Regions from separate parts of the Homo sapiens genome. Here all the other regions are linked to region 5. Evidence: promoter capture Hi-C in 16 types of primary human blood cells and fetal thymus (Javierre and others, 2016). All regions are on one chromosome and are shown on one strand. The core of a region is centred on a gene start or on the middle of the fragment in contact, and the rest is flanking DNA. Distances in the headings are between cores, read along the strand shown. Region 1 overlaps USP40 (ubiquitin specific peptidase 40). Region 2 overlaps DGKD (diacylglycerol kinase delta). Region 3 overlaps DGKD (diacylglycerol kinase delta). Region 4 overlaps DGKD (diacylglycerol kinase delta). Region 5 holds the start of KCNJ13 (potassium inwardly rectifying channel subfamily J member 13). Region 6 overlaps USP40 (ubiquitin specific peptidase 40). Region 7 overlaps ATG16L1 (autophagy related 16 like 1).

Region 1 (3,341 bases), core at 160-2,659, 760 kb before region 5:
TACCCTCTGTTCTCATACACAATGTTAACAATGTTGTCTTTGGGTTATGCCCTACACTCTTCTGTTTGTTGATAAAATAATACTTTTGATTCTCAGAGAGTTGACATTACCACAAATTACTTTCTTTCCAAGAGAAAAATTAGCAAATCACCTTTCCAGGGTGATTGATGAAGTACCCAAGTGTCAAATTTAACTCCCAAGTAATTTTCTATATAAAGTAAATTAGGCTGAGAGAAAAGAAAGAGACTCAAGGCCAGACAGAGGTTAAAGAGTGAGAGGATAGGGGCGTAGTGGATGGGGAGGTAGAGACAGGCAATGGAGAAAGAAATTTTTTTCTTCTTAATCCTTTAGCAAGAACTTTGGGATTGTGACTTAACCCTTACTATGCTTTGATTTTCTGAGCTTGTCTGCCAGCTTTTAGAACAGACAACATTCACTTTAGTCCAGGTTAAAAGATAATTTAGGTTGATAATTACTACCTTATCCCAACAGAGTCTGTCTGGGTTTTCAAATTATCTTTTATGGTGGTACACTGTGTGATTGCCTTTGTTTTGTGCCTTGTTTAGATTGCTTTTAAATATTTCAAAAGTGTTTGTTCTACCTAATCTGTTCCAGTTAAATACTTTTTTAAACAGCACTAGTGAGGTGTAATCAAAATGCTTTTTAGATTGTGGCATAGCGACCTCCTCCCTGGATGTCACTATCAGACTATTTAACAGAGCACTGTGGTTTTATTAAATGTTTTATGATACCTAGATGGATTTTCCCCCGTAGCTGGCCAGGTCAGAAATAAAGATGAAGTTAAATGATCTAATCACAGAAAGGAAGAAAACATTTTTTAATCACATCTAATTTTTGTTTAAATAATTAACTTAGCATTTTTTTTTTTGTTTCTGTGTAGTTCTTACAGCTCCATTCTCAGATATTTCTACTCAGTTCAGATGAAAGTACAGTTCGTCTCTTGAAGAATAGTTCTCTCCAGGCTGAGTCTGATTTCCAAAGGAATGACCAGCAAATTTTCAAGATGCTTCCTCCAGAATCCCCAGGTTTAAACAATAGCATCTCCTGTCCCCACTGGTTTGATATAAATGATTCTAAAGTCCAGCCAATCAGGGAAAAGGATATTGAACAGCAATTTCAGGGTAAAGAAAGTGCCTACATGTTGTTTTATCGGAAATCCCAGTTGCAGAGACCCCCTGAAGGTATGGAAAGAAAAATGTTCCTATTTGTTTCAGTTAATGGCTTTAGAAGATAAACATGGAATGCTGTTTGAATTTTTATTCTTTTAAAAAAAGGTTTACTCTTGGAACATTTTTAAATATTTTAAAGCTAACAAGAACTATATTATGCCAAATGAAATCTAACAATTTGTCATTTTATAAAGATTATATACTTCTCTTTAATTTTCTACCCTGTAATAATGTAAGATCATCATTACATTTTCAAAATTGGATTTCCTTGGATAGCATAAAACCTTCTTGTGTTGGCAAACTTGAGTGCGATTGCCATATGCTCAGACTTGGCTCTGTCATTCAGCCATATGTTGCCTTTGAATTTTAAGTGGCCCTGGTCTTATTTTTATATCTTCTCCTTTATTTTCCTGATTCTTTTATATCTTCTCCTTTATTTTCTGCTTATTTATATCTTTTATTTCTATTATTTATCCTTTATTTATATCTTTTCATATCTTCTCCTTTATTTTCCTGTTTCTCAATAAGACTTTTTGTTTATTTATTCATTTATTTATTTTTAGAGATGCAGCCTCACTCTCTCGTCCAGGCTGGAGTGCAGTGGCATGATTGTTCACTGCAGCCTCTAATTCCTGGGCTCAAGTGATTCTCTTCCCTTAGTAGCTAGGCCTACAAGTACATGCTGCCACACCTGGCTAATTTTTTCATTTTTTTAGAGACAGGGTCTCGCTGTATTGCCCAGGTTGGTCTTGAACTCCTGGCCTCAGATGATGCTCACACCTCAGCCTCCCAAAATGCTGGTGTCATCGGTAGAGGGTCATGAGTGCAAGTTGTCCAGGTTCTTGGCATTTCGAACAAAGAATTAGACAAAACGCCCAGCAAAGCAAAGAATGAAGCAACAAAAGACCAAAAGCAGAGATGTATGGAAAACAAAAGTACACTCCACAGTGTGGAAGCAGCCTGAGCAGCAGCTCAAGGGCCCAGATACAGAATCTTCTCCGGTCCAAATATCCCCTAGAAGTTTCCCATTGGCCACTTCATGCTCACCTCATGTAAATGAATTGGGAGCCCGCCATCAGTCTGATTGGTTGCAGAAAGCAGCCAACCAGAGGCTGAAGTGAAGTTACAAAGGTCACTATCATGTGCAAACATCTGATTGGTTGCAGAAAGCAACCAATCAGAGGCTAGGTTGAAGTTACAACGTTACACTTATTTGCAAACGAAGACATAGCTGGCAATCAGTCTGATTGGCTGCAGGCAACACCCATTCAGAGGCTGGAGTGAAGTTGCAAAGATGCAAACGAAGACCCTACCAGCAATCAGTCTGATTTGTTGCTCAGTCTTATTTGTTGCCAACAGCAACCATTCAGAGGCTGAAATGGTTACAGAGTTGCAAACGAAGACTCCACCCACTGTCTGATTCGTTGGGGTCAGCCAATTTCCTATGTGTGCGCAGAAAAGGTCAAAGGAAGTAGCCTCTGGTCCTTGTGTTACTTAGGAATGGAAAGTTAGGGTGTTCCTTTCAATTTAGTTCTAGGAAGTCGGTGTGAAACAGCCTTAGGTTCCCTGTCTCCAGACCCTATTCTCCTGCCTCACTGGGATTACAGGCATGAGGCCTAGTAAGATTTTTCGATCACTTCTCAAAGTCCGCTCAAAAGTTAAAAACCCCAGTGAGAAAAGCTTTATAGATTGAGACATATCTATTATTAGAGATGAGAATATTGTTCTTAGAGAATGAGAATAACCATCATTTTTATGAAGAATAAGAATAAAGCAGTTACTAATTTGCATGTGAATCAAAGGAAATTAACTTTCCAGATCTAAAACAGTTACATAACTATGCTGTTAATGAAAAAGGCTTTGTATTTTTCTGGGAGGAAAAAAAGATATGGAAATGGTTCTGGTAAAAATATTGTGTATCAGAATTCACAGTTATAGAAATATATACTATCAGAAAAAGAATATCTTCAAATGGAGTATTAGTCTTTTTCACAGAATTGAATTTTAGTGTGTACGTAATTGGAATATGTAAATGACAGTTTTCTTGTTAGCTTAGGAATTGAACAAAGATCCAACAAAAAATCTAGGTGTACTTTTTTGGGAATGAAGGGATAGAATTTATAAAATGATTCTAAAATTCACCTGGAGAAA
Region 2 (3,665 bases), core at 106-2,605, 610 kb before region 5:
ACTTAAGAAACAACCAATCCCAAAGCTACATAAAATGTTGCAGAAAACATAAACTCATAGAAAGTTACTAAATGAATTTTATGGGGTTGGTTTAACTCTGAAATCAAAACACAGTATGTCCAACTATTATGTATCCATTAAAATTAAAAACAGAAAAAACAATTGTTTAAAACTGCAATAAGGCTACATTCTCACCCAAAACAAATGCATACATACCAGTGGGAAAATTCTAAATTGCAAGATAAAGGAGTAAAATTCAACATTACCAAGAATAATTTTTTTATTAGGAAATATGCAAATAACTGAAACCAAAATGAACATCTAAATTAATGCCCAGGGCCAGGCACAGTGGCTCATGCCTGTAATCCCAGTACTTTGGAAGGTTCAGGCGGGTAGATCACTCCAGGCCAGGAGTTTGAGACCAGCCTGGCCAATATGGTGAAACCCCATCTCTACTAAAATTACGAAGATTATCTGGGCATAACGGTGCACGACTATAATCCCAGCTACTAGGGAGGCTGAGGCATGAGGATCCCTTGAACCTGGGAGACGGAGGTTGCAGTGAGCCGAGATCACACCACCGCACTTCAGCCTGGGTGACAAAGGGAGACAACATCTCAAAAAAATTCATTAATTAATCAACTGATGCTCAGAACACTCCAAAGAAATTCAACACCTACTCCTATTAAAGACTCTAAAAACCACGAATCAAAGAAAAATCTATTTATGTGGTTAAAAATGTCTCTTCCCAGCTGGTAAAAATAAATTAATAGAGAAAACTACAAATACTCCAAGTAAAATAAGAGCAGTTAATCAACACAAAATAAGCAGAGGTTTAGACAGAGAAAGGAAAATCCCATTTGTATTGGCAACATCAACAATGAATCCATCAATAAATAAAATAAAACAAAACTTGAAAGCACCTGAAACTAGCACTAACCCAAAATATCAGATCCTAAACTTGAGGAAAATTACTCACCTTGACTGAATTATAAAAGAATAATTTTTTTAATTAGGGTACACACTTTTTGTCTACATGGGATGGCCTAATAACATAAAGAAAAACAGCTTTAAAAGTTCTAGTGCTGTTATTAGAGTCAAACCTTACACAGGCAGGCGCTAAAGTCAGCCCGTAAAGCCTAAATTATAAAATCCTACAAGAAAATGCTACTATAGCCATTAAATAATATCATGAACATTTAGATCAGCTGACATGAGCAACTCTCTACTATAAATTGTCCTGGGGGGGGAAAAAAACACAGGTGTAAACCAAAAGGTTCAGCATGATCTCATGGGTACATGTAGGTAAAGACATAAATATACAGAAATAAAGATAAACACTGTAGAGTAAGCAGCTGGCCACTTCCAAGTGGTGAGATCACATGATTCTGTGCATTTAGAACTTTTGCAGAAAGTCCTACATAACTTTTATAAATTTGGAAGGAAGAAAGTTTAAACATAAAAAAGGAAAAAAAAAAGAAATACACCAAAATATTAACATTCAATGTTTTTTGAGGTGGCTGTTATGGCTGCTTTTTAATTGCTTTAACATACTTGTCTGCATTTTCCAAATTTTCTACATTAATCACAAAAAACAAAACTCTGTACAGAGGTAGTAAGATGTGAACCAGCAAAGCGTGGTGGCTCACACCTGTAATCCCAGGATTTTGGGAGGCCAAGGAGGGTGGATCACCTGAGGTTGGGAGTTCGAGACCACCCTGACCAACACGGAGAAACCCTGTCTCTACTAAAAATACAAAATTAGCCAGGTGTGGTGGCACATGCCTGTAATCCCAGCTACTCGGGAGGCTGAGGCAGGAGAATCGCTTGAACTCGGGAGGCGGAAGTTGCTGTGAGCTGGAGATCACGCCATTGCACTCCAGCCTGGGCAACAAGAGCCAAACTCCGTCTCAAAAAAAACAAAACAGACGTGAACCAAAACACATATAAAAATTTTTCATTTGGTCCCTATTGTCCTTTTGTGCTTATGCATGCCAAATTCTTGGTTATTCTCCAACCACAGTATTACTTTCAGCATTAAATTCAAATTTTACCAGCAATCATTCCAATCAGTAAGAAAAGAATGAAAACGTTTGAACTGCTTGGACACATGTTCAGATCAAAAAGGAAAGCCAACTTCAGTGAAGAATCAAGAAAGGCATGACTGAGGAATCTTACCGTAAAACTGTTGTTGACGTTTTTGGTACTGGATTCAGCTACGCTGGCATCTGTCAGATCCACCTCATCAAATATGATTGACTAGAAAGAGACAAACACAGGGACTAAGGCACATAAAGACAGGTACATCCCTAAGCACTAGCCAGCGCTGCCCACCACACCCCAATGATCCCTAACAAGCACCCACAGAAGCCCCAGTACCTTGAAACTGTAGCATCCAATCAATAAGCCAATCCAAATTAACCCACCCACCTGCTTCTAACCAAAAGCTCGGGCTCACAGGTATAGTGCCATGATTTTTTTAAAAAAATCTACAAACATTGTCATTGCATTAGTGAAGGAAGAAAGAGAGAGAACCAAAGCAAACAACCCAATGCTGGTATTTCTGTATTTACTACTGTCAATACCAGTATTCACTTTTACATGTGAAGTATGTTCTCACACAGTGTTTTAGCTGAGGGAAGGCCGGGGTCTGGACTGAGGATTCCGTGTCCTCCTGGCTTGTTCCTCCAGCGAGCACATGGAGGGGGAAGGTCCTGGCTAAAACAAATTCTTCTGGAGAAGAGAGACAGGTCCAAATGGAAAGGGTCTGGCCGTGAAAGGAAACAAGGGAGTAGAGCAGAAGGATCCTGGTCCTGGAGAGAAAGATGCTCCAGGGCAGGGCTGGGAGTCAGGCCTGGGGACCTCCCCCGTCTCCCTCTCCACTCCCTACAGGGTCCCCCGGCACAGCCCCTGCCTCCTGTTTCCCTTATACCATCCCCTCTATTCTACGATGGCTCTATGAGGAACCCTGGAGAAAATCAAACTAATAACTCAGAAAAGAAACTCAATCTTTTAAGTAACCTTTCCCCTCCCCGCACCACCAGAACTAACTGTAAAAGGTTATTTTGTCGTGTTTTTTTTTTTTTTTAATTGAGGGAAGTGGTCAGAACCCTTTCTAAACAAGCTGCTTTGTTCCATTTCAAATTTTAATGCAGTAACTTTCTAGGGATATGTCTCAAAATGTAAATTATTCAGACTCCAGATTTCTTAAATACCAAAATATTAGTACTGACACCAATCCTGATAAAAAACACAGGTATTCAGAATCCCAGCCAACACACTGGTGTCTGAATGTCTAACACCACATCCGCTTAAACATGGCAGTAATCTGTGACTTTCACTGGCTGCTCCTCCTCCAGCAGCACCCACCTGGTGCTTCTAGCTTTAAATCTACCTACAATAGGGCACACAGAAACAAGGTTAATTGCTAGAAAGCCTAAAAATAAAGAATTTCCCATTTCTGTTCACACATCAAGAAGCTCAGCTCCTTCTACTTTGGCTGGGCACAGTGGCTCATGCCTGTAATCCCAGCACCTTGGGAGGCCAAGGCGGGCAGATTACTTGAGGTCAGGAGTTCAAGACCAGCCTGGGCAATGTGGTGAAACCCCATCTCTAGGCCGGGCACGGTGGCTCATGCCTGTAATCCCAGCACTTTGGGAGGCAGA
Region 3 (3,303 bases), core at 578-3,077, 660 kb before region 5:
TACACCCACAGATAGATAGATAGATAGATAGATAGATAGATAGATAGATAGATAGATAGATAGATAGATGATAGATAGACAGATAAATAAAAAATTATAAAATGAAAGAAAATACACCCACAACGTTGTATGCAGACACATACAGAAGGCATTTGTGCAACGGCAGGTAAAGAAGAATCCTGATTGGCTCAAAAGATGCACGTGCATGGGTGTGTGTACATGGATGTATGTACGTGTGTGCACACGCGCACTGTGTTCAAAGTTGGAAGGCCATGCACCTCTATTAAGAGTGGGCACCTCTGCAAGTGCAATTTGGGAAGGAAGCAGTTCAACTTTTCTTTCCTATTTAAAGCTTTGTGTCTTTGAACTTTTTTTTTTTAACAAGCACACACTATCTACACAATTTTTAAAACTCCAAGAAAGATATATTTTACAAGCTTCCTACCCGAGGTGTGGGCCTCCGTTCATGAGGTCGAAGACCTGGGCGGGGTTTAGTAGCTGTTTGAATCTTCTGAGGAACTTCACACCCTGGTTGTCCCCACTTTTTGAATTGACGAAGACCAACAGTGGGCTTGTGCAAGAAGGAGGACAGCTGGCCTTCCAGAACCCTGGACGCAAGAACGAACAGAAGAAAATATATAGGCCACGGAAGACGCTGAGGGCACCACTGATGGAATCAGCAGCAGCAGACCCCCCCAAAGGACACACACCTGACACATGCACACCTGTAAGTCAGGAGGAGGTCAGTGAACAGTTCCCCACAGCCGGTCTCCATGTGTGAGGCCGGGAGCCCCATCCATCTGACCTCCACATTCACAAGCTGTCCAAATGCCACCTTTCTGCTGTCTTCTCTTCTTGATCTCCTCTGAGCCATGTACCCCACATCCCCCTTTCCACCAGTACTTGTCAACAGGTGCCACCATGTCCCAGCCAGACATGAGAGCAGCTGCAAGCCAGTGTGCCAGCATGTGCTAGGCAGAGATGGGGCACAGCTTCAATGGCTCATGACGGAGAAGGCCCCAGACCTGGGTTGCACTCAACAGCATCACCTCCACGTCAAGTGCCAGGCTCGGGTCTCAGGCCTGTCTAAGCCTGGGTGCCACTCAACAGCATCACCTCCACGTCAAGTGCCAGGCTTGGGTCTCTGGCCCATCTAAGGGCAATGCCGCAGCATCAGGGCGCCGTGTGCCGCTCTGTGCAACTCCTCCAGCACCCCCAACAGCTGTGCCTGACCTCTTGCTGACATCTCACCAAGATAACCAACTCCAGAGCTGGAGAAGAGAAAGTGCGTGGAGAAGGAAGCGTGTGGGCGTGCATGAGAAGGATAAGCATGTGTGGTACCCACCATCGGAGTCGATGCTGTTGAGAGCCGTGGGTGGGATGACTGACACTTTGCACAGGCCAAGTGGGCACTTGGTCAGCAAGGATTCTTTACACGATGTGTGAACCTGAAACAAGAGTCCCCGCGTCACCAAGGGTCACTGGCATCCTTCACACACACCAGAAATCCTCCTGCCCTGTAGCTGATGAGCTGGCCTCGGGGGAGGCAGGTGATTTCAGAGCTGGGCTGGCCTGCTACCATCAGGGGCCCTGGGCCGGCCTGCTATCATCGGGGGCCCTGGGCCCTGGCTTTGCACTTGAGAAGGCATAACACGGAAATACCCGGCAGGAGCCAGTCATGCTTCACACCGTGTGAGCTACAGTCCTGTACCCAACCTTCTGGCCCTTCGACCACAGCTACCTCAAACTTTCAGGACGAGGGTGAGGGCTCCTGGGGCCATGTGCCTCTATGTGTCCCCTGTGTCTTGGCTTCCTCCTGGCAGCCAGATGTGCTAGGCAAGTGACTGCAGCAGCCACTTCACAATGACCAACCCAGAAGCAAGTACATGGAGGCTCCCTGAGTCTCTCCCTGGAAGCACATCTCACCACCCAGAGCAACGATGAGACCCAGGACCTGGCAGGAGGCCACTGGGCTGCACCCCTTCCACATGGCTGTGCTCACTGTCAACACTGCCCAGAGCCAACGCCGCTCCAAATGGCCTCTACAGCTTTCCTGCTTCCACACCACAGAGGCGGCCAGCTCAATTGTCCCAGGTGACCCCTCACAACCCGGCTACAGTGCCGCATGATGCAGGGTGACATCTGTCATAACAATACACATCTGCATATGTCTAAAGACAGGAATAAATGCAAAAGGAAGAAATACCCCAAAACATAGCTAAGAAGGAGAATGACCCAACAGTTCAAAAACCCACTCTCAGCCGGAGGGGCCTCTGGGATTAATTTACCAGGATCCAGCAGATCATGCGGAGCCGCAAGGCCCGCATGGGCACGGTAGGGAGCAAGCCCTCCCCTCCAGCCCGGGCGCAGGGCCCACACTCACCATGGCCTTGCACCAGAGGCAGCGCCAGTCCTGCAGGCGCAGCACACTGCCACAGGTCTTGTCGCACACAGTGCACTTGGCGCTCACAGGTAGGTTTCCTTCCAACCACTGGTGGGGCATTGCAATCTGCAACCAAACAGAGGCACGCACTAGGGACGCTCCCAAGGTTCCACGTCCAGGGCAGCCAGGAAATGCTCGTTGTGAACTCAGCCAAGGCATTCTTCCCAGAACAAGCTCCTTCCCTGATGGCCAGTGAGGGAAGGGATGGCAGGGCCTGTGAAGTACCATCTACCCATAGCACCTGTCGGAGGTGCAAACAAGACTCACAGGGACAGGATGGAGCTCGGGGGTGCGACAACCACACGGAGACCGCATATAATTTCCACTGTGCCACCCAATGCCAGTGTGACCATCTCAAATGAAACAGTGGCAGGGAGGGCAGGGAGGAGGCTTGCATGGGGCCGTGCAGGTGGGGGACCCTGGCTCAGGGCCCCACAGGTGGTATTTCTTAACATACCCCATCTGCATCTTCAATGATGTCCTTCCCGATCGAGGCCAGTGTGGTCCACTTGCAGTTATTGGTTGCACGCACAGCACAGCGCTTGTGGGCCTTAAATTTGCACACTGTGAGAGAAGGGGCACATGAGCCTACAAGCTGTGTCTGTGCCAAGAGCTTCCCATGCTGAGCAGTGTTGTGAGAACCGTCCAGCTCCAGAAAAGTCAAGGAAGGAACCAATGGCACTCCCATTTTATAAGTGAACTACTGTGATACGCTTAGAGGCTGATGGCGGTGGGACCGGCAGCGGCAGGGAAAGCTGGGGATCAGTAAGCTTTCTGTAACAGGCCAGAGAGTGAGCAGTGGAGACTCTGCAGGTCGCAACCAGCTTCCGTCACCACTAATCAACTCTGTCATGTAGCAC
Region 4 (3,590 bases), core at 466-2,965, 680 kb before region 5:
TGAAAGACCACTGGGGAAATGAGCCAGAGCTGAGGGCACATAAACAGGCTCGGCCCTCATGGGTAATGCAGACCCCACAAAAGTCAGGAGCAGCAGCTCCACGCCCCAGGGGCCTTGGAAGAGTGCAGTCCCAGGGACCCTGGGGGAGGCTCATGCGCAACGCAGAGGGGTAGGAGCCCACCTGTGAATGAGGACCCCTGCTGCCTGCCCAAACTGGTCCATCTGGGTGGCCTCCTCCTCGGACAGCATCTCCGGGTGCAGGGAACAGGATGGAGGGCGGGGCAGCTCGCACTTCTGCTTGTCTTCCCAGGACTTCAGGGTGCTCTCAAATGCCTATGGACCCGAAAGCCCAATTACACCTGCTGCTCTGAAGCATGCATCTGACTGCGACAGACACTATGGGGATGCCAACGAGATCACAACTAGAAAGAGACAAATAGGACTTTTTTTTTTTTTTAACATTAGGGGAAGGAGATGGTCCTAGAAATTACTGCCCTATTAGCTTAATCATTGTGTCTTAAAAAAAAAAAAAATCCTAGAACAAAACACAAAAAGCTCCAGCTCTTAACAGTGCACACAAGAGCCCACAGGTGAGCCCTGTACCCCACCCAGGTACCGCGGGCAGCCGCTCTTACCCTGTCTCTGGTCAGTGTCTGTGCCCGGTTCTTGTGGACAATCCGAATGTACCCTGGCGGCTGGACCCAGGCCTCTCCGTCCACCTGCACAGGCACGCCCTCATCCCCAAGGATGGAGATCTTCACCGTGCGACACTGAGCAGACATCATAGCCATTACTCATGCTGAGCCAAAACCCCCAGGGGTTTAAAAGTGCTATCAGCACCACCATGACCTTCCTGCTCCACACACCCGTCCCTGCCTTGCAGGACACCCCACCTCTGCCTCTGGGATGGCGCTCCGCCTGCAGCTAGCCTTCTGCTGTTGTGTCACTCAACCGAGGGTCTGTTCTCCCACTGTCCCGCCCCATCCCGCCCCATCCCCTCACTGAGCAGTCAGTGCAGGAGACCTTGGTGCTGAGACAACAGGTGTCAGAACCCAGGGGCAGGGGTGTTGTAGCTCCCAGAAGCCACTGGGCCCCTGCCACGTGAAAACACCCCTAGAAAAGAGCAGATGGCACAGTGGATGACGATGAGCCATCCATCATCATCCCGTTCCTCCTTTTCAACAACAAACATTGCCAAAGAGTGAAAATTGTGAACTTCAAGCAGCCTACAGCTAAGGGTAGACAGAGTGCTGGAAGACACCAGACAGTCGCAGGGTGGGGTTCAGCCAGTGGGTGTCATCAGCACCCTCCCCCGCCCCAGTGCCTGTGCCTGGGTACAGAGTCCTGCCCCATCCTCACAGAAAGACTGCCCTCAGCCCATCGCTGCTGTCAGAAATAAGCCATGGGGGCACCCCCAGCCCTTCACCACTCGGCCTCAGAACCATGATCGAGGGCCCCAGCTGGAAATCCTCCCACACCCCACATCAGAGCCATGGGCTCCGTCCCCACTGCGGCTTTGACAGCTGCAGACACGGGCAGAGTCCAGCCTGGGTCTGCTCTATCTCATCCCACCTCAGAGGGGACAGGCAAGGCTGTGGTTCAAGCAGGATACACATTTTGAAAGAGTTATCTTGGCCGGGTGCAGTGGCTCACACCTGTAATCCCAACACTTTGGGAGGCCAAGGTGGGTGGATCATTTGAGGTCAGGAGTTCGAGACCAGCCTGGCCAACATGGTGAAGTACAAAAATTAGCTGGGAATGGTGGTGGGCACTTGTAGTCCCAGCTACTCGGAAGGCTGAGGCGGGAGAATCACTTGAACCAGGGAGGTGGAGGTTGCAGCAAGCCGAGATTGCACCACTGCACTCCAGCCTGGGCAACAGAGCAAGACTCTGTCTCAAAAAAAAAAAAAAAAATTAAAAAGAGTTATCTTGAGAATTTAACTGTCAAGCATAGCACAAGGAAAGGGCTCTGGCCCAGGAAGTGGGGCCACGAGCTGTCCAGGACAGGACATGAGGCAGCCACATGGCCCTGGAAAGCGCCCACCCTCCCAGGCTCCATGCACTGCCCCAGAATTTAGCACACTCCGGGCTGGGGACTCGGCCAGACACCCCAGGACCATGGCCACTACCTGGGCGATCCGATGATGCTGTAGCCTGATGACTCGAGAGACGGCCATCTGCATGCTGCCGAACACGGCGACCACCTCCAGAATCTTGTCATCGAATGATGGAGCTGCGAAAGTCTGCAAGGGACACGTTAGAGCTGACCACCACTCCACACATCCCCGAGCACAGGCCGCCCCTACCCTCACTCCCTCCCTCTGGGGGTCAGCCCCTCCTAGCTGGCGAGAAGTTACCAGGTAACTGCACTCCTGACGGGCTTCATGTTGCAGGCCCTGAAACCAGCTGCCTGGGACCAAATCCCAGCTCTCATCTCGGCAAAGTTACTGAATCTCTCTCTCCCCCATTTCCTCATGCGTAAAATGGGGAAACTAACGGCACGCTCCTCCAGGGCCATCAGTAGGGCCAAGTGAGTTAACGCTGCAGAGTGCCAGGACTGGGGCCAGCACACACCACGTGTGCAGGAAGCGCTGAATACTTCTATTCGCTATTACGTACAAAGGAAGGTTTAAACCAGGTTTAAACCTATCAACACCTTCCCACAGTTCTTAACACAAATTCCAAACTTCTTCCCCAGCTCACACAGCCCAGTGTGACCCAGGCCCTGCAGCCCTCTCCTGTCTCTCCACGCCCCTGCTGCCCACTGCAGTCGGGGCACCTCTCTCCCATCCTCCATGTGCCTGCCCTGTCTTGACTCTGAGCCTTCATCTGTGCAATTCTCTCTGCCTGGAACAGCCTCCCCCTCTCCTCTGCCCACCTAACTTAGCCAACTCCAACTCATCCTTCAGGTCTTGGCCTCCCAGACACCTTCCCTGACCCTCCTTCCACGTCACACCCGCTGACCACATCTGCTGACCACAGACCCTCACTGACCACCTTCACTGACACAACTGCTCTGCTCAGCCCTCTAGACGATGAGCTGGGTGGGGGACCCTGTCTATCTTGTTCTCCACGGCAACCCCACTGCTGGCACAACAGAAGAGCTGGATCCACCCCAGCCACAGCAGAACACCCCCCTGCTCTCAGACAGCTCTTCCCCACTGAGCTCAGGCCCACCCGCTCACACCCCATACATACATCATCTTCCTTGGTACCCCCCCAGAAGTTGGTTCCTCCGGCATAGCTGGGAATGTTAAGGACAGCAATTCCCTGAAGACTGGGGAGTGGGATGGGTCGCCCGTCACACTGAGCAGCAGAGACACAGAACAAAAGAAAAGAGAAAGGTATGAGTCAGCCCCTCCTTCTCTACCAGCTTCCCACCGCCAGGGGCTCAGGAGCACAGCCGTGGCCAGGGCATCCCCAGGCAAGTCCCTGTGCATGGAGGAAATGGTCAACAGGAGAAGCAATAGGCCTGGCAGTCTGCTGATGGATGGAGGCCAGCCTGCAGGTGACAAGGACCCTCCCACTCACCTCCAGCAAGACCTTTTGCTCCAGGTTCTTGTAGGTTCTGTGCAGCAACTCTTTGGTTC
Region 5 (3,789 bases), core at 673-3,172:
CCTAAGTGGGCACTTCAGAGCTGGTCTACAATATTCACAGCAGTAGGAATCACTGTTTATAGACCATAGCAAGACTTTCAAATTGTAGAGATCCAGAAATTAGCTTCACTTAAGACATTTCTTTCTTAATTGAAGATCATTTTGCCAAATCATTTTTGTCTCAATATATTGAAACCAAGTATACTATGGAAAAAGACTTTTAAGTTTAATAAAATCCTTAACTGTCTTGCCTACTATAATATGTATTCTCAGGCCAGGTGAAGTGGCTCATGCCTGTAATCCCAGGAATTTGGGAGGCTGAATTGAGAGGACAGCTTGAGCCCAGGAGTTCAAGACCAGCCTAGACAACACAGCAAGACCCTGCCTCTACAAAAAATAAAAAATTAGCCAGATGTGGTGGCATTACTGCAGGGGGTGGGGGATGAGGTGGGAGGATCACTTGAGCCTGGGAGGTCGAGGCTGCAGTGAGCTGTGATCACACCACTGCACTCCAGCCTGGGTGACACAGCAAGACTCTATGTCTAAAAAAAATGAAAATAAAAAATATACAATGTATATTCAAAACACATGACAGATACACTCAAGTGCTTCTGCTTTCTAGAAGCAGTATTATACTATACTTGTTCTAGTATTTTGTTGTTGTGTTGTTCTGTTTTTCTGCAATTTGTTAGCTGGGAATTGATACACATTATAATTCCTACCAGTACATGCAGGGAATGAGCATCACACCACAAATCCTTCTTTATACTTTACCTTCCCTAGTTCTGAAGGTCAGTGTTTCTAATGCTGTGTCTGAACTTGTGTTGAAGTATTTGGTACTAATAAAACAAAGAAGGAATTAATATATTTTTTAAATTGTGGGGCGGGGGGGGGACGGAGAGGATTCTACAAAGGCGGATTTCACTTTCTAAGTAGCATTATATTGGTCTACATTAATAATTTTCCCAGCAGGCCTTCCAAGATTTTACTTTGAACAATCACAGTCTTTGTTTCTCAGATCCTCTTACATGTGACATTTGGTCAAAGTTTTAAAATCAGCAGCTAACGGAGGAGGAGAAAAGTACTGTTCACTAAGGCACTGCACAAAGCCATACCACAGCACGTTTCAGGGTTCCAACAAGCTGGATCACATTTTCCAGCTAAACACTATTTCAATGTTGTGTTACATTTTCTGTACACTGTACACTATGTTTTATTAACACTATACTTCATCACACTGATCAGGAAAACATCTTCTAAACATCATTAAAATAAGCCTTAAGAAAATTCTTCGGTTCTTTCCCACAGGTGTGCATTTTTTAAAGTATCAGGTACAGAACAATTAATTTTATTCCTATTCAAGGTCTTTGTATACAGCCTTTAAAAAAAAAAAGTTTGTTTCCTAACCAAAAAAATAAAAGATTTCACGTAATTATCTATATTACTAGTTCTGGAACTAATGGTAGCCATTCTGATGAGACATGAGAAGAAAACTAAGAAAATCAATGCATTAATTTATGCCTATAAGTCCTTATCCAAATAAATCTTCCCCAAAGACATGGTGGAAAAAAAAAAAGATTAGTAAAGGAAATATCTCACACTTCAACATGCTATATAAGGAAAGACGGCTGAAAAATCTTGCAGGGAATTTTATCCCTTTGAACTTTCAAAAAAACTCTTAAGTAAGATTATGCAAACTTACTAAAGACCGGTCCTGATTAGAGGGAAAAAATGCACCCCTTCTCCAAGTCAGTTCTGGAGGCTTTCTCCAGAGTTGTTAAGGTTTGTGTTGGGTAAAGAAAGACCTCCTAACAAACCAGCATTCTTTTCCACATGATCAGAGCTAATTGGCCCCCCTGCAGGCTAAGTGACCAATCACATCAACCTCAGCTGAAACCAGCCCCCACAACATTATAAACAGAGGAATGTAAGCTGTAAAACCAGTCCAAGAAGAGAACCTACAAACTAGACTTGTAGATTAAAATTATCTGATCAAAAAGGCAGACTCTGTAAATTTCCTTAAGACCTACCTTGGCATAAAGGCTGACCCAGCAAAAGAACTGGTGAGTACATGCAATAATATCCATTCTTCTTTCCTTATGGGAAACAGGGAAAGAAACTGACTGGCAAATAGCAACAGAGCTAGATTACTTCCAACAGATTTTTAAAACAAAGACATTATCTATAGTGTAGGATAGTAAGGTTTCTATATTCTTTTCCCTTAAATCTTAAAAATGCAATAACAGCCATATTGAATGTATTACTGGAAATTTTCTTAACTGTTTTATTAAATGTATACTAATTTTCTATTACAATATATCAGTAGAGGATAAAGGCCTTAGGAAAAAAAATTCAGTGGCTTGAGGAAAAAAAAAGTCTTTTTCTTTTGGAAGGAATTTCAAAAACCCAAAATGAGCATAAAAAAACAAATGCCAAAAGAATAAGCCACTTTGTTTTTACTTCTGTAATCTAAGAAGAAAGTGATGAGTATCCTAATCGTAAATTTTTAAGCATGGAATTATTGCGGAAATTAATAGATACTTCTGCAACTGAGAAATTAAAATAGAATCTCTGAGCTTATATAACAGGGTTAGAACTCAATAGTGTTTGCCCTAATTGTGGAGGGCAGGAGAAATCATTATAAGACTTTCAATATAGTCTTAAAGTATTTACACCAGACATGAACAAATACATAGTAATGCCATCTTCATTTAATGTTTGTTAGTTATAGCCTTTATCTTAACTCCTCAGTATGAACTATACTATTTTTTATCATGGCAACAGAAAATACATACTTTTAAGTGCTACAACCCAATGAGTAGAATGAATTCTGATGATCAGTGAAGCTGCCTATCATTTTTTAATAGGTACTATTTTTCCTCCAAATAATTTATAAATGGGCAAATATTTTACAGCCCACACACAGCAATAGAAGCAAACCTTCCCAACCTTCCACCTCACTTTCTATTGGGATCAGCTGATGAGACTTAAATATCAGGTAACAATAGTATAATTTTTTAAACCATACGAGCAGACATCAAACTATACAGAAATAAAAGAAATCATATAGGAAACTTGTATCCTTTGTAGGAAGTGGAAATATGTTTGTTTACATAAGTCTGTAGAGCTTTAAGAAATCTTATTATCATAATTCCCTCTTTTTTCACTTTCTTTGTTTTAATCTAAGGATGCCAGGCCAATGGGATTGAGTGGTTTGCCCAAAATGACACAGCTATGTAACCAACAGTGCTAGAGCCTGAAGGCCATATCCCCTTATCCTGCGTTCTCTACACTAAACCACACTGACTATAAGAGTCCACAGAATAGTTATTCAGGGTAATTGGTTAAGTGGGAATCAGAAATCAATCTTCCTTCTCTATATTACTCCACTTGCCAACACAATCCAAACCAAATCCAGCAGTCTTAGGTTAAAAAAAAAAAAATGCTGCTTAACTGTTCCGATTATCAGCCTTTTGACTTCCCTGTTCACAGGTTTTTCCATGTATTTAGTTGCAAGAGAAAAAAAATACAATTGTAAAGAGCCTAGAGTAAGAGTGCTACAAAAGTTGTAGGTAAGAAGTAACAACAGTCCTGAAAAAGCCCAAATGAGAATGATGAATTTTGTTAGCTACAGTCTATACAGAAAGGCTCTAAGTAAGGAATTTTAGAACTTTCATAAAATAGGTTGAAAATACAAAAGAATCATGGAGTTTTTTCTTTCTCAAGCTTTTGTGAAACACTAAGCACTTAGCAGCATTCAGTAGGACAGTGGCTCCAAATGTGGAACAAGCACTAGTGTCCAGGAGCATG
Region 6 (3,529 bases), core at 881-3,380, 720 kb before region 5:
CTCCTCCTCTTCTCTATCTTTGAGCATTCTGCTGCCCAGTTCTTAGATTGGACCTCGGCCCAGAACATCCAGCTGCCACTTGGTTGTCTAACAATCATCCAAACCTAGAACATATTCACAGTAAAGCTCTTCTTATTCTCCCTGAAACATAACCCGCTCATATTTTTCTCTTTTTCAGTTAATGGCAACTCCATTTTTTACTTGCTTAGGCTGAAAGCCTTGAAGTCATCCTTGATTCTTCTCTTTCTTACTTCACATTCAGTTTCACAAGGACATCTTTTGGTTCTACCATCAAAATGCATCTAGGATCTGACCACATCTCATTCTGTTCATTACTACCACCCTGTCAAACCTGTCATCTTTTTCATCTGAAATGAATTTCATCCATCAGCTTCCTAACTGATCTCCTTCCTTATAGCCTTGCACTTCCCAGGGTCTGTTCTTATAAAAAGTTGAGTGATCCTTTAAAATGTAAGAGAGATTAGTCACTCCTATACTCACAACCCTCCTGTGGTTTCCCATTTTACCCAGAGTAAGAGGTGAAGTCTTGAATGTCTGCACAAGGGCCTATGTGATCTGGTTCTCTGGTATCATTTTTGTTATATTTTCAAACCTCCAACCATTTCCCCCTCTTACTCACTGTGCTTCAGCCACACTGGCCTTCTTGCTGTTTCTGAAATAAGGCTTTTATGCTCTCTATTTCCCCTTCCTAAAACACAATTAAGTTGATTGCTCAATTGTTTGATTGTTTTTCTTAAATACAATGTTTAAGGCTTTAAGTTTTCTTAGAATATAAGCTTGCTTTCATTCATCCACCATATTTTAGTATACTGTGTTTTTATCATCATTTTCTAAACAATCTATAATTATATTTTAAAGCCTTATTTTTTGTCATACAAGTAATCATGGATTTCTTCTCACTTTTTAAACTTCTAGGGGATTAACAATCCCCCTTGGTTACCACTCTATTCTAGTCCTTTCTCTAGAAGTCACTGTTGCAATCAGATAACATCATCTTATCCACATCAGCAGAGTATGTGTCCCTCCAGACCTTTGCTGTGCCTATACCAGCATGTGTCTATATACATACATATAGAAATGAAGAGTGTGCTTTGCTTCTGTGATTTCTTTTAAATTATAAATGGGATCACTTTGCATGTATTATACTAGAACTTTGTTTCACTTAAAATATTTTAAAGATCTTTTAAGACCAATATATATGAATCTGTTTTTTTCTTTGAACTGCTTTAAGACATTTCCTACTTTTTAAAAAATCTCCCATTAATGTGTATTTTGGTGGGGTTTTTTTTGCCATTTTTCTTTTATTACAAACAGTACAGCAGTGACTTCCTTATTTTTGCTCTCTTTTGCTCTAGTGTAATAGAAATCAAATTGTATTTGCTCGCTTGTCCAAGATTTAATTAGCAATGTTTTTCCCTCAAGAAATTGTTTTAATTACTATTTTTGTTTTATTTAAACTTTTGTTAATATTGTCTCATTTTTGCATTATGCCATGACATCACAGCTTGCACAATTCTTGTGAGTTTTTATATTTAGGGAAAACGGGGAAATTCAGACAGTCATAAAGAGAAGAGAGAAGGGAGAACTTTCCCCAAATGCTATCAATCTCGCCTTTTATAGGATTCAGAGTTTAATGTCTATGAAATTAACTTGATTAATCATATCTGGCCAAAGACACACAGTTAATCCTTACAGGAAGAAAGTCATGGTTCAAACCTGGGAGTTGGTGGATGAAACTTTGAACTAAGTCCTGCTTGCAAACACCAGAAACTGCTTTTTCCTCTTCCTGAATTGGCCCCATCTAGCCTTTAGAAAGGAAAGCTGACTCGTGTATTATCTTCTTAACTATGTCTATCCTTGCCTATTCAAGAATCATTAAATATAGTCAGACTTAAATAGGCCTAGGGTCCAAAAAGGGTGTTTGTCCTAGAACTGTAACTCAGAAACAGAAAACTAACATTGGACATTGTTTTTCTTTACAGTGTTTAAAGTTAATGCTGAAGAAATCTGGCCTACAAGGTAAGTTACTTACCATGATGACATATTACTTAAAAGCCTAATAAAAATTTTTTTGACTTTTTTTTTCTCCAGGGTTGTAGGAAAAAAAAATTTATAGGGTGTGGAGAAATAAAAAGTAGTTTACACTTCCATATGTACATAATGAATTCTCCTGGTTCTTGTTGGCATGCTGAAAGAAAACTAATGGTATAGCTCTGAGTAGAGAATTTAGATAGGATCCAGCAAAGGTACAAAGTAGGAATGTTTTACAGTGTTGGTGGGAATGTAAATTAGGTCAACCATTGTGGAAGACAGTGTGGCAACTCCTCAAAGACCTAGAACCAGAAATGCCATTGATCCAGCAATCCCATTACTGGGTATATACCCAAAGGAATATAAAGTATTCTATTATAAAGATACATGCACATGTATGTTCATTGCAGCACTGTTCACAATAGCAAAGACATGGAATCAACCCAAATGCCCATCAGTAATAGACTGGATAAAGAAAATATGGTACATATATACCATGGAATACTGTGCAGCCATAGAAAGGAATGAGATCATGTCCTTTGCAGGGTCATGGATGGAGCTGGAAGTCATTATCCTCAGCAAACTAATGCAGGAACAGAAAACTAGACACCACATGTTCTTACTTATAAGTGGGAGCCAAACAATGAGAACACATGGACACAGGGAGGGGAATAACACACATTGGGGCCTGTTGGTGTATGGGGGGGTGGGAGTGGGGGAGGGAGAGCATCAGGAAAAATTGCTAATACATTCTGGGCTTAATACCTAGGTGATGAGTTGATAGGTGCAGCAAACCACCATGGCACACGTTTACCTGTGTAACAGGCCTGCACATCCTGCACATGTACCCCAGAACTTAAAATAAAAAGAACGCTAAGATGTATACCACCTGGAGCCACGCAGGTCTTCCACTGATTCCTTTCAATTTTATTGATTCCAAATTTCAGTGCATTCTGTTTCATGTCAGTATTTTTGTGGTATAGATGACGGAATGTAAAATGAATGAAAAAAATAAATCTAAGATAACTGAAGCAACTTTCCAGGTGAGATCATGTCAGTGAGCTTGATGAGACCTCATTCTGATTTCAGTAGCACACTTTGCTGTTCTCAGACTTCATTAACATGGAGGCCCATAGCTTTATTATCTGGAAAGGAAGTTAAGGTGCTCTGGGTGCAAGACATTCTTCTAGAAGTTACACGCAACGTCTCACCTAACTTTGAATTTTTTTTATCCCAATTTTGACTCCTTTATAGGAGATGCCTGGCATTTACGAAAAATGGATTGGTGCTATGAAGCTGGAGAGCCTTTATGTGAAGAAGTAAGATGATTTCTATACATTGTACTTTCGTATGATTACATTTATGTCATATTTTCGTACAAGGTACCCATTCCACTCATGAGAAAGCTTTAATTACTTTCTATAGGATACAAATATCTATGAATGGGTCTATTTTACTTTTTTCTTACTATAGTTTT
Region 7 (3,244 bases), core at 217-2,716, 520 kb before region 5:
CCAAAGAGTCAGGGATGTGTTTCTATAACCCTTTCTCCAGCGGCTGCCACTCTAACCGCTCTACCTGGCGTACTCTGTAGACTGTGGCCTGCTGTGCTGTGTGAGTGGCCCCAGCTTCTCTCCACTGACCTAGCTCAGCCAGCCGAGCAGGTGGGCGGACAGTGCCCTCACAGCGCCGACTGAGGTCTAAACCGGATGACCCCTGAGATGAAGTCAAAGGCCTTGCTCACAACGCAACGGGGGGCTGAGACAGGGTTCATCTTACCTGTGCTGCTTTGAAAGAACCTTTTCCACTTTCCCTGTGAGCACACTCCAGATATACAGAGAGCCCTCAGCAGAGCCTGCCGCCACGTAACTGCCATCAGGGCTACAGAAGACAGTAAGAAAAGAAAGGTTGTCAATTCCCCACCCCCAATTCAGCATCTCTGTGGCCTTTTTCCCAAGAAGGAATGTTTGTTCTTCACTGATGACCACTCCTGTGTACCCAGACCTCAGAATGTGTGCTAGTCATGGCCCTTCCAGCCAAATCTGCTTTTCCCCAGTATTTCAGCCCCGTCCGGCTAATGAACAGTGGCATCACATTGCTTCTTGGGGCTCCAAGTCCTTAACCATCTACAGACTTCAACAAAACAACATATAGGGAGATCAAAGCCAACCTCCACATAGCTAAGGGTTTCAGCCCATGGACTGCCTTGTTACATGCCTCAAAGAGAGGAGGGAAGAAAAGAAACATCTTAGCAACTGAGCCTGGAAAGGTATTTGGAAGAAGCAGGATACATGGAAGAAGGGAACAAGGAGCAGAAAACTGCAGACCACCTGCACACCCTTCTCCAAAAAGCCTTTTCAGTCCCGCCCCAGGCCCACGGCCACTCCTGCCCTTTTCTAAAGGCTCTCCAACAGCTCTTGCGTGAATGAGTGATGAGAAGTGAACCTAATGGGCTCACCCACAACAAAGCAACCAGCCAACTGTTATTTTTTGGTACAACACGTTAGGTTCATGTAATCACAAAAGGAACACTGGAAAGGAAGAGACAATAATGGTGGCCTGCAATTATGAACTTACAGGCACACTCCTGGAAACATAGGTTGGGCACTGAACAAAATTTAGCTCTATATCCCCAGTGGGAAAATGCCCATGCAGGACTCTTTGTGATGAACCAAATTGGCGGGGGGTGGGTCACTACTAACCTGAAGACAACTCTGGTCCAGTCAGAGCCGCACTTGAACCCAGGTGCACTGAAACAAACAACAGGGCACTGTCACTGAGGGAGCTCAGGCCACGCAGCACGTTAAGAGAGCAGGGCTGGGCCTCTGGTCTTCATGCAACCAGCACATCTTCAGTTACCTGAATGTCTGCTTGATAGCATTTGTTCGGAGATCAATAACTTTTAGCAAGTCATCACGGGAGCAGCTCAGGAGCTCAGTCCTTTCTGGGTTTAAGTCCAGGGCAGTAATCTTTCCCAACAGCTCCATCTCTCGAACTATGCTCTCTGATCTAAGAGGGAGAACAGATCTGAGAAATGTAACGTAGGCCAGAACTACTTCACATCATGCCGTGGAGGAAAAAAAAGGCACTGCAATTCAACTAGCATGCAACGCTCTGCCAGCGCAGTCAATGTGTTCCCAGTCTTCTAATAACCTGTGACTGCTTTTCTTACTTTCCCATCAACAGACCCTAAGACAGTCATTCCCAGACTAGAACTCTGAAGTTGGTAAGAATTTCCTCATCCATTTTTGGAATGACAACAATCGCCCATCGGTTTCTGATCAGCATGAGCTAACTAGGGCTACTACCCAATTCGTATTATTTTCAGTGATGTGATTTCAACTTTTGGATAAAGTTGGCAAAGAAACCTGCATTAGTGGGCCTGGGCTGCCTTGTAAGTGTAACTCTAGCCTCTTGCAGGTTTTCTGCCCTATTCACTGTGGCTCTGTGGCCCTCCACCTCCAGATATGGGGCCAGGAAAGCCAGGGCAGAGCCACGGCCCTACGCACCTCCCTCTTCTTCTCTGTGCTGTGGCCCATGTCCAGGGTGGCTAACAGCCACCCTGGGCAGGGCCCTGTTGGTGACATTCATAGCCAAAGGGGGTGCTGACCTGTTCTGTGATGATTTTGTTGTAGGCTTTCAATGAAACCTTTTCCTACCTCCCACCTTAACTAAGCAAGAATTTATCTTATTGTTGCTAAATATGCAGCTTGAAGCAAGCTACTCCACTTCCTTGGGACTCAGGGTCTTCACCTGTCAAATTATGGGATGGACTAAGAGACTTCGAACATCCAACTTAACTCTCAAATTCCATCTTTCAAGTTCCAATTTCAGGTTTTAAAAGCAAACTAAAGATTATGAATAAAATGTGAAGTGGTGTCCAGGAACCATGAGCATTGTCAGGACTTTCTGGTGCCATGCTGTGTTTCAAAGCATCATCTATCACCACAGGCCCTGTACCCCCACCCTCTCTACAACCCTGCTGGGAGGCTGTCCTCATTTACTCTCCATCCTGTCTTCCCCTTCCTCCAACCTGTCAATAAGCCCTGTCCAAATTCTCCTTCAAATAGATTCTCTCCTCCACATGTTCCTCTACTGACTTGAACTTAGGTCCTTATCAACTCTATTGGTTTCCTATTCCCTAATATGCCCTCTCAAAATGCCACCAAAGTCGTCTACTAGACTCCTGCAAAGCAACCATTTCCTTGCTAAACACCCAACGACTTACAAGATCGAGTGATTTGACAATGGCTTATCAAGCCTGTGGCAACCTGATTTCAACCCCTCATAGCCCCCTCACTGGCTTCTGCCCTGTTTCCTGCTCACTTGCCATGTATCAGCCACCAGACACACACTCAAAAGTTTGAGTGGCTTTCCTGCCGTGTGAATCCTACTCACGTCTCCGGAGAAATCTGGAGAGGCATTCTTTAACACACTGGAACAAACGTAGCTGCCTCCACTTCAACACACTAGTCACTGACTTTTGCGTTCTGCCTTCCCTACTACAGTTTAAATTACCTAAAGGTAGAAAGAGTATCCTGTTTGCCTTTTCTTACCTGCCAGCTGGTGAAGGGCCTAGCACTCACTGCATGCTCAATAAATGATTGCTAAGCTCCACAGTCTACTTCATGGGAAAGAACAGCCAAGTGTTAATAAGCTAACACTATACGTGTACCGAAACTCATTTCTGCCATGTCCTGAGATCTTAAAAGCACAACCCATGTACAGAACCATTACTGTGGAGACTCTTATGTGCCT

Evidence for each region. Contacts are between HindIII fragments. The CHiCAGO score rates a contact against its expected background, and 5 or more counts as called.
Region 1: a fragment that was not itself captured here is called in contact with the fragment with the promoter of KCNJ13 in region 5 in 1 of 17 cell types (M2 macrophages); the score reaches 6.0 in M2 macrophages.
Region 2: a fragment that was not itself captured here is called in contact with the fragment with the promoter of KCNJ13 in region 5 in 4 of 17 cell types (monocytes, naive CD4 T cells, naive CD8 T cells and 1 more); the score reaches 6.0 in monocytes.
Region 3: a contact is called between a fragment that was not itself captured here and the fragment with the promoter of KCNJ13 in region 5, in 1 of 17 cell types (monocytes). The highest score is 6.5, in monocytes.
Region 4: a contact is called between a fragment that was not itself captured here and the fragment with the promoter of KCNJ13 in region 5, in 1 of 17 cell types (naive CD4 T cells). The highest score is 5.7, in naive CD4 T cells.
Region 6: a fragment that was not itself captured here is called in contact with the fragment with the promoter of KCNJ13 in region 5 in 4 of 17 cell types (M2 macrophages, non-activated CD4 T cells, M0 macrophages and 1 more); the score reaches 6.6 in M2 macrophages.
Region 7: a contact is called between a fragment that was not itself captured here and the fragment with the promoter of KCNJ13 in region 5, in 8 of 17 cell types (M2 macrophages, M1 macrophages, M0 macrophages and 5 more). The highest score is 15.6, in M2 macrophages.

The regions. Positions count from the first base shown.
Region 1 is chr2:233,531,340-233,534,680 of GRCh38, reverse strand. It overlaps USP40 (ubiquitin specific peptidase 40), which reads left to right. Exons shown (of 32, transcript NM_001365479.2): 11 at 902-1,202. Among named protein-coding and RNA genes, the nearest start is that of USP40, 34 kb to the left of the region's middle. The HindIII fragment of the contact is 2,926 bases long and covers 1-2,872 here.
Region 2 is chr2:233,388,997-233,392,661 of GRCh38, reverse strand. It overlaps DGKD (diacylglycerol kinase delta), which reads right to left. Exons shown (of 30, transcript NM_152879.3): 3 at 2,179-2,259. Among named protein-coding and RNA genes, the nearest start is that of DGKD, 36 kb to the right of the region's middle. The HindIII fragment of the contact is 5,698 bases long and covers 1-3,665 here.
Region 3 is chr2:233,435,522-233,438,824 of GRCh38, reverse strand. It overlaps DGKD (diacylglycerol kinase delta), which reads right to left. Exons shown (of 30, transcript NM_152879.3): 6 at 2,901-3,007; 7 at 2,384-2,509; 8 at 1,346-1,448; 9 at 446-608. Among named protein-coding and RNA genes, the nearest start is that of DGKD, 83 kb to the right of the region's middle. The HindIII fragment of the contact is 2,776 bases long and covers 440-3,215 here.
Region 4 is chr2:233,456,937-233,460,526 of GRCh38, reverse strand. It overlaps DGKD (diacylglycerol kinase delta), which reads right to left. Exons shown (of 30, transcript NM_152879.3): 20 at 3,532-3,590; 21 at 3,199-3,306; 22 at 2,130-2,243; 23 at 636-770; 24 at 182-333. Among named protein-coding and RNA genes, the nearest start is that of DGKD, 100 kb to the right of the region's middle. The HindIII fragment of the contact is 6,733 bases long and covers 1-3,590 here.
Region 5 is chr2:232,774,698-232,778,486 of GRCh38, reverse strand. KCNJ13 (potassium inwardly rectifying channel subfamily J member 13) reads left to right here and starts at 1,922. Exons shown (of 3, transcript NM_002242.4): 1 at 1,922-2,042. The region is part of intron 8 of GIGYF2 (GRB10 interacting GYF protein 2); the gene reads right to left. The HindIII fragment of the contact is 5,243 bases long and covers 1-3,707 here.
Region 6 is chr2:233,498,390-233,501,918 of GRCh38, reverse strand. USP40 (ubiquitin specific peptidase 40) reads left to right here. Exons shown (of 32, transcript NM_001365479.2): 22 at 2,004-2,040; 23 at 3,307-3,371. Among named protein-coding and RNA genes, the nearest start is that of USP40, 67 kb to the left of the region's middle. The HindIII fragment of the contact is 2,661 bases long and covers 800-3,460 here.
Region 7 is chr2:233,290,379-233,293,622 of GRCh38, reverse strand. ATG16L1 (autophagy related 16 like 1) reads right to left here. Exons shown (of 18, transcript NM_030803.7): 15 at 1,346-1,495; 16 at 1,189-1,236; 17 at 266-367. Among named protein-coding and RNA genes, the nearest start is that of SAG, 16 kb to the left of the region's middle. The HindIII fragment of the contact is 4,043 bases long and covers 1-3,244 here.